Linked DNA regions of Homo sapiens: region 1 is linked to region 2. The links are contacts of gene promoters, found by promoter capture Hi-C in blood cells and fetal thymus (Javierre and others, 2016). All regions are on one chromosome and are shown on one strand. Each heading gives the region's core, a stretch centred on a gene start or on the middle of the fragment in contact. The rest is flanking DNA. Distances are from core to core; before and after follow the strand shown.

The links. Contacts are between HindIII fragments. The CHiCAGO score rates a contact against its expected background, and 5 or more counts as called.
Region 1: a fragment that was not itself captured here is called in contact with the fragment with the promoter of TMIGD1 in region 2 in 2 of 17 cell types (M2 macrophages and M1 macrophages); the score reaches 7.4 in M2 macrophages.

What each region holds. Positions count from the first base shown.
Region 1 is chr17:30,196,455-30,199,515 of GRCh38, reverse strand. SLC6A4 (solute carrier family 6 member 4) reads left to right here. Exons shown (of 15, transcript NM_001045.6): 15 at 986-3,061. The coding sequence ends at 1,060. Among named protein-coding and RNA genes, the nearest start is that of SLC6A4, 38 kb to the left of the region's middle. The HindIII fragment of the contact is 729 bases long and covers 903-1,631 here.
Region 2 is chr17:30,332,500-30,335,440 of GRCh38, reverse strand. TMIGD1 (transmembrane and immunoglobulin domain containing 1) reads left to right here and starts at 1,384. Exons shown (of 7, transcript NM_206832.3): 1 at 1,384-1,441. The HindIII fragment of the contact is 5,890 bases long and covers 1,159-2,941 here.

The DNA.
Region 1 (3,061 bases), core at 18-2,517, 140 kb after region 2:
AGGCAACTCCAGACATTTTCAGTCCAAAATAAAAATGACAGGGGCAGAACTTCACCTAAAGATCAGTAAATCAAAGGATGCTTTCAGATCCAAATTGTCTGCTTATGATACATACAGACTTTTGGCCAACAAAGATTTTATTAAGCAACTTAATAAAGATTTTTCAAAGCCTCTGCAGTGTGGCTGTTTTTTTTTTTTTCTCCTCTATATCCCTGAGCTGCTTTTTGCCACTCTGATGCTGAGTTTTACAAGGCCAGTTGTATATTTCACACCTAAGCCCAAGTATATTTCAGATCCATCTTAAAGCTTCTGTGTACCTCAGCTGTTTCTATAGTAGACCTTCTCAGCCACTTCTCTGTGATGAGTACTACATCAACACAATGTTGCATTAGAAGTGATGATTTCAATAATCGCATCTTTTACAGTTTAACTATGTGATAATTTATACTCTCATATGAACTAACCAGTATTGCTTTACAGGTGAATTCATTAAATTAGTAACATCCTGGCTGTTACAGTGGCTGATAGCACTGGGCAGTATGGCTGCAGTGTGTCTGCAGGAGACAAGGAGCCTGGGTGAGGGGATGGGGGCCAAAACCCAGCAATTACTCTGCTCCCCAAGCCCTTTGTGGCCGCAGAAGTCTCCTCTGTCCAGAGAAAAGGGTACCCTTTCCCAAGTCCTTCAAAAGCATGTTATTGGCCAGCAGAGATTCTGTTGAAGGCTCATCATTTTCTTCCATTAGTGTTATAATGATTTTCTTAGTTTACAGATGTGTATAGTTTCTGAATATACCATTTTAATTCATATTTGAGAATACATAAATTGGGAATTCTTTTCCTAAGGAATGTCAGTGAGACTATTCCAACTCGCTCTTAGATGTTATTAAAGTGTTATTTAAGCTTTGTTTTAATATTAATGTTGACTATTTTTGCAAGTTTTAAAAATTACAAGGATGTTTATAACATTGTATTTTCTTCCCAATAGCGTATTATTAAAAGTATTACCCCAGAAACACCAACAGAAATTCCTTGTGGGGACATCCGCTTGAATGCTGTGTAACACACTCACCGAGAGGAAAAAGGCTTCTCCACAACCTCCTCCTCCAGTTCTGATGAGGCACGCCTGCCTTCTCCCCTCCAAGTGAATGAGTTTCCAGCTAAGCCTGATGATGGAAGGGCCTTCTCCACAGGGACACAGTCTGGTGCCCAGACTCAAGGCCTCCAGCCACTTATTTCCATGGATTCCCCTGGACATATTCCCATGGTAGACTGTGACACAGCTGAGCTGGCCTATTTTGGACGTGTGAGGATGTGGATGGAGGTGATGAAAACCACCCTATCATCAGTTAGGATTAGGTTTAGAATCAAGTCTGTGAAAGTCTCCTGTATCATTTCTTGGTATGATCATTGGTATCTGATATCTGTTTGCTTCTAAAGGTTTCACTGTTCATGAATACGTAAACTGCGTAGGAGAGAACAGGGATGCTATCTCGCTAGCCATATATTTTCTGAGTAGCATATATAATTTTATTGCTGGAATCTACTAGAACCTTCTAATCCATGTGCTGCTGTGGCATCAGGAAAGGAAGATGTAAGAAGCTAAAATGAAAAATAGTGTGTCCATGCAAGCTTGTGAGTCTGTGTATATTGTTGTTTCAGTGTATTCTTATCTCTAGTCCAATATTTTGGGCCCATTACAAATATATGAATTCCCCAAATTTTTCTTACATTAACAAATTCTACCAACTCAATTGTGTATGGAGGTTATTATTTGAAGGGTACAATCACTACAACATGCTCTGCCACCCACTCCTTTTCCAGTGACACTACTTGAGCCACACACTTTCCTTTACAGGCCAGCCTCTGGCGTTTGCTGCACCTCATTGCCACCTTCCTGTCTCTCTGTGCTAAACATTCAGGACAGTGTTCCACAGGCAGATCTGGCCTATTTCATTAGTCACCATGGCTTGGCTGTGAAGTACGTTGAAGGTGGATCTTGTCACATGCCCCTTCAGTGTTCACCTGGCCCTCTGGTTTAAGTTCTGTCTGCCTTACGTGACTGAGTTTGACTGTCCAGGTTGCTTTGCTCGGTGAAGAGAGGAGGGTAAATCGGATTCTCGTTTAGCACTGGGTTATACAGATCTGGCACCCTAACCTAAACCAAGGCATCTTCACTCCAAGAGCAGTTGGAGAGTCTGGGTTAGCCTTACGTGGACCTCGCCGCTCGCTGGCGGTCACGATTGTGAGCCCTCCAGATAATTTTTAAGGTTGAGTCTAAGTAAGGCTGCTTGGGAAATGGTCAGCTAAGTAAATCACCTTTCATTTCACATAAGGCCCTTAATATAGATAAGTAAATTTGGCCTTTGGTGTCTCGTGACTCTCAGAGGCGTAGGTAGAGGAGCAAATTAATATTTGCAGCATGGGAATTCCTTATCAGAATTTTGAGGGGAATAAATCCTCATCAGAGACAAAAGGACTTAATCATCTGGCCACCTATCACTTCAGTTCTCTGTATAAATGAAATTTAATTCTAACAACCTTATAAAAAGAAGGTCCAGACAGCAGAGGAAACATCCTGTCCAATTCTAGGTTTTCCTCCCTTGGCCTCCTTTCCCCAGCATTGTCTACCCTGGCCCACTTCCTGCATTCTCCCCATGCCCTGCTATTTCTGATTCTTTGCTTCTCCTAGCGAGATACTTTCCTTATATGATAGCTGCTGAGAAGTTTCCCAGAACTGCTAGAGGAAAAGAAGTGGGGAATTTAGGAAATATCCCTCACTGACCTAACTCCATTATCTTCACTCTTTCCTTCTTCCTGCCACCTCATGCCCATTCTCTTTACTGTCTAGCATGCTGAAAGAAGGAAGTGATCTAAATGCCAGCGTGTTCAGTGGTAAATATTAGTTGGTGCAAAAGAAAAACCATGATTACTTTTGCACTAACCTAATAGCTTTGCAAATTTTAAGAACTTGCTTTATGAAGATATTCGGATATGGATTCTCCCCACCCCACATACTTAGACATTGTTCAAATATACTACTTTTAAAAAAACACCTTTTCAA
Region 2 (2,941 bases), core at 135-2,634:
CGTGCCCGGCCGAGATCACCTTTAAATAAACTATTGGCACTCAAAGCTCTGTCTCAGGGTCTATTTTGGAGGCACCAAGAACCAAAACATCACTCCATTGCTAAATTCATTTTAAAATGACAATCTTGGATCCCTGGAGAGGCAAACTCAAAACCTGTTTGGGTGGTGCTTGCAACCCAGCCAACAGGAGCTGCTCTTAGCTCTGATTTTTGCTTGAACAATGCTATAGTGAGGTTGTGTTGATTTAGGATGCCCTGCTCAGCCTATATTAATAATAATAGTAATAAGAGCTACTGTTTACCAAGAGCTTACTGTGCGGCAGATTCACATGCTTCATTTCATTTAATCCTCACAGTGACTCCGTAGGGAGGGTACTATTACTATTTCCATTGTATTGATGAAGATCCTGAGGCTCATGGAGGTTAAATAACTTTTCAAAGTTACATAGCTAGTAAGAGGCAGATTGCTGGTGTGCTTCAGCAGTGTGTTAAAATGTGTAGATAACTATAAATATTCTTCTGTTATATTTTTGTGTAAATGGGAACAATAGTACTTGGCAGATAAAATTTGCATCGTTAACAATACCATAAACATAGTGTAATGCAAGGATCTCCCAATCAGGTGAGAGCCTCAAGAGGATAAAACTGTTCCCTAGGCCAAGGTGGGCAGATTGCTTAAGGCCGGGAGTTAGAGACCAGCCTAGGAAACATGGCGAAATTTCATCTCTACCAAAAATATATATATTAACAAAGTTTAGCTGGGCATGGTGACTCACGCCAGTAGTCCTAGCTCCTTGGGAGGCTGGGAGCAGAGGTTCAGTCAGCCACAATTGTGCCATTGCATTCCAATCTGGGTGACAGAGTGAAACCCTGCCTCAAAAAACAAAACAAACAACAACAACAAAAAAACGGCTCCCTGCCATGCCTGGCTTGGTACAGCTTATGCACTGGGCTTGGGTTACTAGTGGTAACTAAGACTTTTCCAGCATTATTTAAGTTGTGTAGAATCTTCCAATGTTTTGACCTCTGTTAAAGTCAAACTTCTCTTTGGACTCGTCCCTTCACAATCCCCAGGCTAGATGATCAAAACGCAGCCATCTTACTTAAATATGACAATATTCAGTGAGATGCGCTACAGATTTTTGCACAAGTTCAAGCTTTCTTGGAACAACACATCCCTGTTAGTAATATCCGGCCCCACCTAGTAACCGAGGTAGACATAGAAACTTAGATCTTAAGAAGATGTCTTTCCCAATTACTATCTTCTCTAAGACTCCATAAAGAAAAACAGACTTTGAACCCAAGTTATCTTATTTATTTGACCCTGCTGTCATAAAGCGTTCAAATTCAAGTATTATAAAGGATTGTAACAGGGAAAGCATTTAGGGTTTTCAGGCAGAGGAACAGTTGGCCAAGGAAGTCAGCTTCTCAGAGCTCAAGAGGTAAGTGGTAAGACTGTCTTATATAGAAAGTAGAGAGTCATACAGATTAAAAACAAGCCAAGTGAGGGGAATACATTTTGAAAAGTTGCTGTCTCGGTGGAGTGGAGGGAAAGAGAAGACATAGATTTGTCCCCTTAATAGGGCTGGGTGAGGTCTGGCAAGAAGCCTGCACTCTCAGTTTTTATTGAGTACTTGTAGTGCAGAGCGCTTGAGAAAACTCTACTATTGACCACATTCTGCAGTAATCACTGTTACAACACTGTGATAGAAATCTTTTTGGCAAATATTTAAAATTACAAAAGAATCAATATTAGTAGTAATTGCATCTTACGAAAAGATTGATGCAGGCTTGTCTGCCAGAAAGGGTGAGCCTGGCATGAATGAAACTTACTCCTGTCAGGGCACGCCTGGGACAGGGGAGGAGTAGAGTAGGTATAGGTATATTTCAGCTCTTGTAAATTAATACTGGTGTTAAGGGGAGAGAACTCCCAGTGGCCAGGGACTGGAAAAGATTAACAGCAGCTTTTTTTTATTTTTTTATTTTTTATTTTTATTTTTTGAGACCGAGCCTCACTCTGTCGCCCAGGCTGGAGTGCAGTGGCATAATCTTGGCTCACTGCAACCTCCACCTCCCAGGTTCAAGCAATTCTCCTGCCTCAGCCTCCCGAGTAGCTGGGATTACAGGCGCTCGCCACCATGCCTGGCTAATTTTTTTTTTTTTTTTTTGCATTTTTAGTAGAGATGGGGTTTCACTATGTTGGTCAGGCTAGTCTCAAACTCCTGACCTCAGGTAATCCACCTGCCTCAGCTCCTAAAGTGCTGGGATTACAGGCATGAGCCACTGCACCCAGCCTAACAGCAGCTTCTTAAAGGAAAAGAATATTAATCTAGGCAGTAGATTGGGTAGTAGGGTGGTTGAGAGTAGGGTGGTTAAGAGCATGGTCTTGGGAGTCTGGGTTCAAATCCCGACCTTGACATTTACTGTCTGTGGGATCTCAGGCAAATTACATAGTCTCTTTAAATCTATAGAAACGACCTCAGGAGGGTTGTTAGGAGGCTTAATTGTGACTGAAATGATGTATGTAAAGTGTTTAGCACAGTCCCTGTTGCGCAGAAAGTTTTCCGTATGTGGTTCGCTATATTTATAGTAGTACTCTTGAAAGGAAGTAATGAATATATGTTTTTTTCCCAGATGGAAATGGAGAATATCTTAGGGAGAGGGAGAGTTGAAGCAAAAGCAAGAAGGGAGAAAGGACACCTTTATTATTTATTATTTTTAGTCCATTGGGTCAAGGGGAAGAGAGAGAGAGAATAGTGGGAGAAAGACAAGATTAACATGGTTTAAACTAGAGGCCATGTTTCAATTGAGGCTTTTCTACGTACACACCATTTGAATCTATGGGATTTGGAGTAGTCTCAAAAACTCTCTATTATCAGAGAACATCTTTACAAAAATGACCCAAGAAAAACTTTCAGAACAAGAATTACTTTGTTCAGTAG